2 separate regions of the Homo sapiens genome follow, and region 2 is linked to region 1. The links are contacts of gene promoters, found by promoter capture Hi-C in blood cells and fetal thymus (Javierre and others, 2016). All regions are on one chromosome and are shown on one strand. The core of a region is centred on a gene start or on the middle of the fragment in contact, and the rest is flanking DNA. Distances in the headings are between cores, read along the strand shown. Region 1 holds the start of CLASP2 (cytoplasmic linker associated protein 2). Region 2 overlaps GLB1 (galactosidase beta 1).

What was found. Contacts are between HindIII fragments. The CHiCAGO score rates a contact against its expected background, and 5 or more counts as called.
Region 2: a contact is called between a fragment that was not itself captured here and the fragment with the promoter of CLASP2 in region 1, in 1 of 17 cell types (naive CD4 T cells). The highest score is 5.0, in naive CD4 T cells.

The regions. Positions count from the first base shown.
Region 1 is chr3:33,714,699-33,720,696 of GRCh38, reverse strand. CLASP2 (cytoplasmic linker associated protein 2) reads left to right here and starts at 2,443. Exons shown (of 39, transcript NM_001365631.1): 1 at 2,443-2,889. The coding sequence starts at 2,695. RefSeq lists an enhancer at 2,082-2,171 and a silencer at 2,372-2,711. The HindIII fragment of the contact is 12,344 bases long and covers 1-5,998 here.
Region 2 is chr3:33,040,826-33,046,518 of GRCh38, reverse strand. It overlaps GLB1 (galactosidase beta 1), which reads left to right. Exons shown (of 16, transcript NM_000404.4): 10 at 287-399. Among named protein-coding and RNA genes, the nearest start is that of GLB1, 53 kb to the left of the region's middle. The HindIII fragment of the contact is 188 bases long and covers 1,355-1,542 here.

The sequences.
Region 1 (5,998 bases), core at 1,194-3,693:
ACAGGTAGAGCTGAACCTAGAATCCAGGGCTCCTGCATTTTTTTTTTTCTATACCACATACTGCACCTGGTCACCAGCAATTACAGTGTAAAGTTCTTCTGGATAGGATCCTCTTTTTATATCTTTCTGCAACCCTTTAAGAACAGAACCTTTGGACACTCAAACCCAAGGAATAGTTACCATAATGTATTAGTCAGGGTTCTCCAGAGAAACAGAACCGGTAGATAGATATGTGGAGAATCATTTTTTTTAATTTTTTAATTTTTTTTTTGAGACAGGGTCTTGCTCTGTCACCCAGGCTGGAGTGAAGTGGCACAAACACAGCTCACTGCAGCCTCGACCTCCTGGGCTCAAGTGATCCTCTTGCCTCAGCCTCCCATGTAGCTGGGACCACAGGTGTGCACCACCATGCTTGGCTAATTTATTGATTTTATTTTTGGAGAGACAAGGTCTCACTTTGTTGCCCAGGCTGGTCTTGAACTCCTGGGCTTAAGCGATCCTTCCACCTCAGTCTCCCAAAGTGCCGGGATTACAAGTGTGAACCACTGCACTTGGCCTAATGAGAGGATAATTATTATAGGAATTGGCTCACACGGTTAAGGGAGGCAAGAAGTCTCATGTCTGCTGTTTGCAAGCTGGAGAACCAGGAAACCTGGTGGTGTAATACAGTCCTAGTCTGGAGGCCTGAGAATTGGAGGACTGATGATATAAGTTTCTGTCTGAATACTAAAGTTTGAGAACCAGGAGCACCCATCTTTGAGAGCAGGAAAAGATGGATGTTTCCGATCGAGCAGAGAGAGTGAATTTGGCCTTTCTCCACACTTGTGTTCTGTTCAGGCCTCAACGAATTGGATGATGTCCACTGACATTGGGAAGGGCCATCTGCTTTACTCAGCTCACCAATTCAAATGATAATCTCTTCCATAAACTCTCTCACAGACACACTCAGAAATAATGTTTTGCCAGCTATTTGGGCATCTCTTGCCCCAGTCAAGTTGACACATAAAATTAACCATCACACATAGTTTACTTGATTGAGGCATAGTCTGAGGGAAATTACAACCAATTAAAGATGGAAGAAACTTTACAAACTCAATACAATGTGAAACACAGAAATACTGAAAAAAGAACACAGAAAACAGTCAATTTCTTTGAATTTTGAGTTTGTTTATTCTTAGTTATTGTGAATATTTCAAATATCAATTTTTGTTGAATTCATTCACTCATTTAACTTAAATTGGCCACCCATTATTTGCTAGGCACCACCCTAGGAAAACACAAAGGTTCCTGGAGCTTTCTGTGTATTAGAAGAGAAAGATATTACATAAATAATCATTTTGTTGTGATTGGGAATAATTGTCAAGAAGATAAACACAGTGTGCTTTTGGAATGTATTAGACAACTTTACCCCCACCAGAATGGCTAAAACTAATAACCCTGACCATATCAAATATTGTGGAGCAACTGGAACTCTCAAGCATTGCTGGTGGGGATTTAATATGATCCAGTCACTTTGGTAAACAATTTGGCAGGTTCTTCTAAAGTTAAACATACAACTTACAAGACCTAGTAATGCCAGTCCTTGGTATTTATTTACCCATGAGAGAAGAAAATATATCCACACAAAAACTTGTGCACTAACCGTTGTAGCAGCTTTATTCATAATTATAAAAAATAGGAAACAACCCAAATATCTACCAACAAGTGAATGGATCGACAAATGGTAGTGATTCCACAGAATGGAAAGCAATAAAAAGGAATGGACTTCTGAGACACCAACAGCGCTGGATGGACCCCAAACGTTATGCTAAAAGAAACCAGACTCCAAAGAAGCACAGACTGTATGAAGTTCAGGAACAGGGAAAACTATGTTACCATGCTAGAAATCAAATTAGAATTGCCTAGGGAAGAGCAGATAATTGGGAAGTGTCCTGGGACTTCCTGGGGTGTTGGAAACGTGCTGTACCCTCACTGGGGTGGCGGTTCCACGGGTGAATACATTTGCCGAAACTCATGAAGTGTACGCTGAAAATCTGTGCGTTTTACTTTAGGCAAACCTAAGTTTTGTTTTGTTTTGTTTTTTTAAGTATTACACAGTGACTGTGGTGGTGGCTGGAAGCAGAAGTCAGGAGTGTATTCTTTTTTTTTTTTTTTTTTAAACCGGCAGTGGGGGCGGGAAAGGGGGATGCCAAGTACTTTCCTAAGTGTTGAATACAAGTGGAGGCAAACTTGGAAACGTTCCACATTTCACAGGGCGAGGGCAGGGTGCCCTGACAGCGGCTAGCAAAGAACGGCCCGCCTCCCAGGGGGCTCGGCCCAACTCGGACCCCAAGTCTCCCTAGAGGTCCTATCGCTCCCAGCGGTTTCCGCAGCCACCTCCACCACCTCCGCAGCAAAACGCTAGCCGGACTGGAGGGCCCTCGCCGGCGTCGTGCTGACGTCACGCGCGTGCTGACGTCGCCCGCGGCCGCGGCCTCTGAAGCGGGCTGGGGATCGGGGGGCGCCGAGTTTGACTAGTTTGGGGGCGGCTGGGCGCTTGGCGTTCCTCCCGCCGCCCGCTGCGCCCCGCAAGCCGCGCCCCTGGCGGGCTAAGTGAGTCCCGCCCGCTCCCGCGGGGACCCGCACTGGAGGCTGGGCGGCTCTCGGCGAAAGTTGGCCGCTCACAGACTGGCAGGCGGGCGGGCGGCCGCAGCCATGGAGCCCCGCAGCATGGAGTACTTCTGCGCCCAGGTGCAGCAGAAGGACGTCGGCGGCCGGCTGCAGGTCGGCCAGGAGCTCCTGCTCTACCTTGGCGCCCCCGGCGCCATCTCGGACCTGGAGGAGGACCTGGGCCGCCTAGGCAAGACAGTCGACGCGCTCACCGGCTGGGTGGGTTCGAGCAACTACCGGGTAAGCGACGGCGGCGAGGCTGGGCTGGTCACGCCCTCCGCGGCAGCCCTTTAATCCCGGACGCGAGCGCCGGGCCGGGAAAGCTCCCGTCCGAACCACTGCTTAAGAGGGGAAACACACTTTGGGAAGCACAGGCGGGCGGATCACGAGGTCAGGAGTTCGAGACCAGCCTGACCAACATGGTGCAACCCCGTCTCTACTAAAAATACAAAAATTAGCCGGGCGTGGTGGCGGGCGCCTGTAATCCCAGCTACCCAGGAGGCTGAGGCAGGAGAATCGCTTGAATCTAGCAGGCAGAGGTTGCAGTGAGCCGAGATCGAGCCACTGCACTCCAGCCTGGGCGACAGAGTGAGACTCTGTCTCAAAAAAAGTAAAAAATAAATAAAAATAGGGGAAACAGGGGGGTCCCGCGTCCCCACTGGGCAGACCGCCTCTTCGTACGCGAGCCGAGGACTGACTTGTGACCACATTTTTCTACACTTGTGGACAATGACAAATTCAGCGATTCCGTGACACGTTGCGGAGTTACTAGGACACAATGTTGATCACTTATTTTGAAAAAAAAATCAGTGAAAGACTTCGACATTTGTGTTCACCTGTGTAAACACTACCCAGACCAACAGATAGGACATTAGGATACGATTTTAGGTTGATGTGTCTTAGTAGATAGGCTAATGCTGGGGGGGAAAAAGTTACAAAGATGAGGTGCGAGAAAGAATGAGCCTTTCTGAAGAGTTGGTGGTAGGCAGGGTGTAATGTAGCCGCGTTGGGAGGCCAGGTAAATATTTTGTATTTAACTTGCCCCGTAGTCGTTAGTAGTTACTTTTCTTTCTTGTCTTCTGGTGGCAGTGTTGCTTTAAAATGCTGACTGCAGCTTCCCATGGATGAAGTGATTCTTCTTAGTAACATATTCTCATGATCCAGCGAATAGGCTGTACTTTGAAACCTTTTATTCAAAAAGAGAAGAAAGACAAACTCTAGAATTATGACGCAGATTTAATGGTAAAGCCCAGATGAGTTTTGGAAAGGTTAGACTTTTTACAAGGACAATAAAGTTTGAGAGTTACCCACGTCGATGCTTCATTACATACCATCTCTTGATTATTATTTTTAAAACGTTTGGGGAAAAGGTAATTTAATAATATATCATTACCATTTGGGAGATTATTTCTTTGGAAGAAACAAGCTAAATTTACTCTGTAAGAAAGGCATATACATATTCACACTCAAGATAGTTGATTTTATGCTACAGCATAGACTGTTGTAGAAAGACAGCGCTTTGGTAATGTTTGCACCCCTTCCGAAGTTAAGATTGGTGTGCCATCTTCTACACGGGCTGTTGTGAATTGGCTTTGGGCCATTTCACTCCTCAGATGTACCTCAGTGAATGACAGTTGAGCAATCACGCTGATATTCTGTGATACCACAGTATGCTAGTTTTCTGTTATGCCTCTAAGCCCTACTTCTACTCGGTGCTGTGTTTTTAACTGTTCTTTAAGAGTTAGAATCCATCAGGGGTCTCATCCGGGTTCTTTTCTGTTTTCACTACGTATTTTCTCCATGCTCCTCACTAGATAATGTAGCCCAAGACAATTTCAGCAGTCAGAAGAGAACTGCCATAGTCTCCCACCACCTGTCTATACACTTCCTTGTAGCTGTGACCATATAATCTTCCTTTTTCCTTGTTAGAATAGATAAATTGCCTGTTTTCCTCATTTATGCAATTCCCTCCACGAAAGTATTAGATTCCATGCCTTCTTGCTTACTCAAGGACATTGATCCATCAATTCTGCTCTCTTTCCTAAATCACTAGTTCTTCCCTTTCTGTTGAATTCTATAGCATAGAAACTTTTCTGACATTGCTAGGGAAAGGGCATTCTAATTAATCTGTTGCTTTAAGTTTTATAAGCTAAGTTACCCAACTGGGTAATCTTTTTTTTTTTTTTTTTTTTTTTTTTTTACTTAAGATACAATAAAACATACTTAACTGTTTTAAAAAGTGTGTCATAGGAGCTTTTGAACATACAAATAGAATCATACTTCAATTTCAGTTTATACTGAACAAAATACAGTTTTTCTTTGAATTGGTAGTACTTCAGAATCTGAGTGTCTTAACAGTCATTGTGTTAGTAAATTTGAGTGCCTCCTGTATGCTGGGTATTCAAGATGCTAAGGATCCATCCAGCTTTGAACAAGACAAGGCCCATTCATTCAGCTGCATTAGGATATTTATCGATGACCTATTATTATCAGGAACTTACTCTTCTAGGCATTGCAGATACAATGTGAAAAAAAGACAAATCCTTGTCTTTGTGGACTTAGATTCTAGTAGGAGGAGAGGAATAAGCAGGAAAGATAAATAAAATGTATAGTGTGTTAGATGGTGATAAGTGGTTTGGAGAAAAAAACAATGAAGGGAATAGGGAATACTAGGCAAGATGCATATGTTGGAATTTTAAATAGTTGGTCGTTAAAGACCTCATTGAGAAGGTGACTTAACAGAAGATGGGAAAGTGAGATCCCTGCCATTGCATTAGAAAGAGGTAGACAGGTATAGAAATTAGATCATTTCAGATAGCATGTGCTTGTAAATCAACATGGTATGAAATGATTATGAGACTCTACTTTGGGTGGTCAAGAAAGGTGACATGTGAGTGCAGACACTGAAGAAACATAAGAGTCAAGAATGATTGAAGCAGAGGAAACAGCAAATTCAGAGACCCTAGTTTTGTTGAGGAACATAAAGCCAGCCTGGCTAGAGTTTAAATGAGTGAGGTGTTAAGAAAGACGAAGTTGAGGAAGCAGCTGTAAAGTCATAGGATTTTATTCTAAATGTGGTGGCAGTAACTGGGCAGGTATAACATCATAGGATTTTATTCTAAATATGGTGGAGGTATAACATCATAGGATTTTATTCTAAATATGGTGGAGGTAACTGGGCGTGGTGGCTTATGCCTGTAGTCCCAGCTACTTGGGAGGCTGAGACAGAAGGCTCACTTGAGGCCAGGAGTTTGAGACCAGCCTGGGCAACATAACAAATTCCTGTCTAAAAAAAAATAAATACAGTGGGGGGTTTTATGTGTGTAAAGGGTGGCTGCTTTGTGGAGAG
Region 2 (5,693 bases), core at 199-2,698, 670 kb after region 1:
TGTCCAGTGGGGGTGATACCTGCTAGAATCACAGCTGTGAGCTTCTGTAGAGAGTGGATGGAAAGAGTCCTTGGTAAACTCTAAGGTGCCTGGTAACTGCTACCTGTAGAAAGAAATTCCTTCCTCTAAACGTTGCATCCTGAGGGTCACGTCTGTGTCTCCCAACAAGTGGTTTTAATGTGTCTTCTAGTTTTCTCTCTCTACAGTGCTGAGCTCATGGATCCCAAAGAACTTGTCCCAGAGCTGCACCATCAGTAATAACTAGTGGCACATTTTTGTCTTCTAGGGGCCAACTCACCCTATGCAGCACAGCCCACCAGCTACGACTATGATGCCCCACTGAGTGAGGCTGGGGACCTCACTGAGAAGTATTTTGCTCTGCGAAACATCATCCAGAAGGTGGGTGCTTTGTATGAGCTGTGGTGGGCTGATCTTGGACAGAGCCTCTTTTGAACTCACTGTGGCTCTGTGGACAACTTCCTGCCTGGAGCCCTCCTGTTTAAAAGGATGGATGAAGGGAGGCATCAGCTAGACTTGGGTTTGCATCTTGTACCCACGTGGTTAAGAGTGAGTCTATGAGCAGATGCTTATAGGAGAGTAGGAGATATAAGACATGTATTTAAAAACTGCAATATATAATACAGTGTTAAATGCTACTTACAGATTCACTTCTTATATGGTGAGAATTCACCCGGGGAAATTTCTGTCTCCATTTTCTTCTCCTTCCAGGCCAGATTATCTTTCCAAAAGTTCAGGTGAGAGGTAGGGTGATGGGAGAGAATGCACAGATCCTCTTGAGACTATAGCCCCTATTAAGGCAGCATGGATATATGGGAGCCCCTATCCTTGAGACACAGCTAATGTACTTCAATATCAAAAGAGGTAAAGCTAAGCTCTGGTTTCTTTATTTAATGCATCATCTGAAAAAAGTAAGTTTCCAGTAACCAAAGTGTATAAGAATTATTTCTCACTAGAAAATAACTCCGTCCTTATTTGCAAGAGAGAAGAAGATAAACTATTTTCCTTTTTATGTGTGGCCCAATATACAGACTATGTGATTTCAGAATGAGGAACACCAGATTTTGAACCTGGACACTATTTCTTCAACCTTAAGCCAATTGTGTAAATTCCCTTTATATAAAAGTAGAGGTAGCCGTACTTACCTCACAGACTTGTACAGTTTAAAAATAAATGGCACTCAATAAATGTTTGTTTTCTTCTTTCATAGTCAAATAAATGAACAATAATTATTTATTTACCTAAAAAAAAAAAAGAGTGAGTCTATGAGCAAATCAGTCTACTGATTGTTAATTTGTAAAACTGGGATTACAGCATCTGGTTGTGCTGTAAAGCTTGAAAAGAACGTATGTAAGCCATCCAGGACAGTTCCTGACACATATATGTCTAATAAGTGGTAGCCGTTAACTATTATTTATCTTAAATGTAAGAAAATGTGTGTCTACTTAAATAGCTGATGTACATAGGAAAAAAAATCTTCAGATACTGTGAAGCATGGTGCAGATGTCAGCTGTCAGTGAAGCTTCATTTTTCTATTTGGAGCAAGTGATTGCTGTTTCTGGACTGCATCTGAACTGCTTAGTCCTGCTAGCGTTGTACCCTTTTGAGGCACCTAATGCACCTAGGTGGGGTTTCCTGTCTCTGCTGTGGGTTAAAAGAAAAAACCCACAGTTTTTATGCTCAGTCACCTGAGTTTTGAAGTTAAAAAAACAAAGGTTTTCTGCCTATAAATGGTATGGTTTTTTTTGTTTTAAGTATGATGTCGTTTTAATTTTAAGCATGTGTTAAAATGAATATTACAAATTTTTTAAATATAAAAAATACAATCTAGACTTACCACACTTATAATTTGTCCATTTCATCTAAATTTTCAAATGTATTGTTAAAATGTTGCTTATGTTATTCCTTTATTATGGGTTTAATCTCCACAGAATTTATAGTAATGTCTCCCAAGCTCTCCCTTGTATGTTTGTTCTGTTTTGAAGCTTTCTGTTCCTATCTTTATTATTTCCTTCCTTTATTTGAAGCTTAGCTTTTTAATGCAGCCTTTCTTCTTTTCTAATATAAATATTTAAGGTTATAAATTTCCTTCAAGTACTGCTGTGGCTTTATCTCGTAAGTTTTGATGTGCAATCTATTTCTTACTGTTTGCTTCTAAACATATCTATTTTGATTTCTCTTCACCATTGATATGTGTTTTTTAAATTACTGGAAATAAGTACTTTCCTGTTTTTTTGATTTCTAGTCTTTTTGCATTCTGGTTAGAGAATATAGTCTGTGATACCAATCCCTTGAAAGCTGCTGAGCCTAGTCTTAGAGCCTGACATACACCAATATTAATGGTCAATGTGCGCATAAAAAGAAAGTATATTTTACAGTTGTTGACTATATTCTACATACATGTTCATCAGATTAAGTTTATTAATGGTGCCATTGATATCTTTGATCTGCTTCCTAATTTTTTGTCAGTTCAGTCTACTATTTAGTGAGAGTTGTCCTCATGTATTTCCCTTTGTAGCTCTGCCAGTTCTGAGGTTATGTTATTAGGTGGGCAAATTGAGAATTACATCCTTCAGTACTTAATAGTAAAGGGATTATATAACCCTCTATTTCTAATAAGGCTTTTTGCCTGGAAGCCTTTTTTTTTTTTTTTTTTCTTTTTTTGGTCTGTTATTCATTAACACCATTTACCTGCATACTTTTGCTTGGTATTTTTCTGAGGTATCTTTCCCAATGCTGTAATTTCATCCTTTTTATATCCTTTGTTCTGTTTACATGTGTCCCTTATAAACAGGATATAATCGAATTTTTAAAATATCTAGTTTGAAATTTCTTGTCTTTTAACTGATATATTTATACATTCTCATTCATTGTACTTCTTGATATACATAGATGAATTTCAATTATCTTATTTTATAATTTCTATTCGTTTACCTTTTTGGCTCTTTCTTTCCCTTTATTGCTTTCTTTTAGATTGAGGTTTTTTGTTTTGTTTTGTTTTTTCCTCTTATTTCTTTCCCCCCTCTTCTACTTTGGAAGTTATTCACTGCATTCTAATTTTTTTAGTGGTTACCATTTAAGTGTGACATCTATACCCCCAGAAAAGAACAACTCGTAGTACACAGCTCAGTGAATTTAGGCAACGGGAGCGCAGCCCTGTGACAAACACATAGCTCCCCGGAAGCCCCTCTAATGTCCCTCTCTAGTCATTGACACACATACCCATTCCTGAGCTCACAGCTGTCCTCACCTCTATCACCAGAGATTCATTTTGCTCGTTTTTAGGCAGCAAGTTCCTACAATATACACTCCTGTGTCTGGCTGTCTTGTAATAGTTTAAAATTAATCAATATCTTTACTTTCTCCATATTGCATCCCTCTTTAACTTACTGTAACTCCAATTACAGCCCTCTTGATTTGTATGTTATTATTGTCATGTATTTTAATTCTCTGGGTTTAGTTTTCATGTATTTTAGTTCTCTCCTTAAAAAATAAAACCCATGGGGCATTACTACAATGGCTTCAGATAGTATTTCACTTGACCCACATAGTTCATTTATTGGCAAATGATTTAACAAACATTCATCAAGTACTCTGCATGCGCCAGGTTGCAGTTTTAGGTGCTTGGTGGCTGTAGGCTTTCCTGAAAAGGTGGAGCTCAAACAAAAATTTTAAGGTGGTGAGAGAGCCATGTGGCATATCTCCGCCTGGACAAGAGCATTCCAGGCAGAATGCAGCCAGTGAGAACTTGGGAAGGTATATGGCATTTTTAAAGACTAGCAAGGAGGCCAGTGTGGCTGGAGCCCAGTAAATGAAGGGGTAAGAAGTAGGAGAGGCTGTGCGCGGTGGCTCACGCCTGTAATCCAAGCGCTTTGGGAGGCCGAGGCGGGCGGATCACGAGGTCAGGAGATCGAGACCATCCTGGCTAACACAGTGAAACCCCGTCTCTACTAAAAAGACAAAAAATTAGCCGGGCATAGTGGCGGGCGCCTGTAGTCCCAGCTACTCCGGAGGCTGAGGCAGAAGAATGGCGTGAACCCGGGAGGTGGAGCTTGCAGTGAGCCGAGATCACGCCACTGCACTCCAGCCTGGGCGACAGAGCGAGACTTGGAAAAAAAAAAAAAAAAAAAGGAGGAGATGAGGGGTCAGGGATATAGATGGGGAACAGATCACATGGAGCATTACAGGCCATTATAAGACTTTGGCTTTTACTCTGAATGTAATGGGAATCCATTGAGGAGTTGAGCAGAGCCGTTGTTAAAGCATTCTATTAAAGCAGATTCCAGCTGCTGTGTTGAGATTAGACCCTGGGAGGTGCGGCAAGGGTAGAGTAGGAAGACCAGTTAGAAAGTTTTTGCAGCCATCTCAGTGAGAGGTGATTGTGGCTTATGAAGGTAGTAGGAACTAGGCAGTTTCAGAATATATTATGAAACTAGTGCTAATATAATTTTCAGATGGGGAGTATGAAAGAGAGGAGAGTCGGGTGACTCTAAAGTGTTTTAAATGGCAACTTGAAGGACAGAGTTACCATTTATGTGGGGGGAAGATCAGGAGTTCAGTTTTGGCTGTGCAAAGTTAGACTTGTCTAGTATATGTACTAGTGGAGATGTAGAGTAGGCAGTGGATATATGAATGCACAGCTTGAGACAAAGGTCTGGTACCTTTGTCCCAGGACCACACTTTTCTTTATCTTCTATTGCTTCTTCTGCCTGAAGTATATTCTTTAGAATTTCATTTAGTAAGCAAGTTATATTAATTCTTCTTTGTCTGAAAATTTTTTTTTCACCCTCATTTTCAAAATGCAGTTTTTCTTTTCTTTCTTTCTTTTTTTTTTTTTTTGAAGACAGGGTCTCACTCTGTTGTCCAGAATGAGTGCAGTGGTGAGATCTTGGCTCACTGCAACCTCTGCCTCCCAGCTTCAAGCGATTCTCCTGCCTCAGCCTCCCAAGCAGCTGGGATTACAGGCGTGCATCACCACACCTGGCTAATTTTTGTATTTTTAGTAGAGATGGGGTTTCACCATGTTGACCAGGCTGGTCTTGAACTTCTGACCTCAGATGATCCATCTGCCTCAGCCTCCCGAAGTGCTGGGATTACAGGTGTGAGCCACCATGCCCGGCCTCAAATTGTAGTTTTTCTAAACTGATAGTTTTCTCTCAGCATACTGACTTTGGGCTTTTATTGTTGCTGCTGAGAAGTCAGTTTACTGTACTCTGTCACTCTCTTGAAGATAATCTATCTTTCCTCTTGGACAGCTTCTGAGATTTTCTCTTTATATTTGACGCTGTATAGTTTCTCTGTGATGAATCTAAGTGTGACTTTCTTTTCGTTTATCCTGCTTGGTAGTTTTGGAACTTGTGGCTTGGTATCTTTTTTCACTAGTCCTAAAAAGTTTATGCCATTATGTCTTCAAATATTTATTTCTATTAGATAATTTGTTAGACCTTCTGATTCTAGCCTTCACAGCTCGTAATCTCTTTTTCTCTGTGCAGCATTCTGATTGTCTTGAAATATGTTCTTCAATTGTTGCTTTCTCTTTAGTAGCTATAAATTCTAAGATTAAAACCTTTCCATTGAATTATTAAATTATATTTTTCATTCTATAAGTTCACATTAGCAGTTCGAATTTTACTCAGCCATTTTTAAATTCTCTTGCTTTTTCCTTATGTATACAT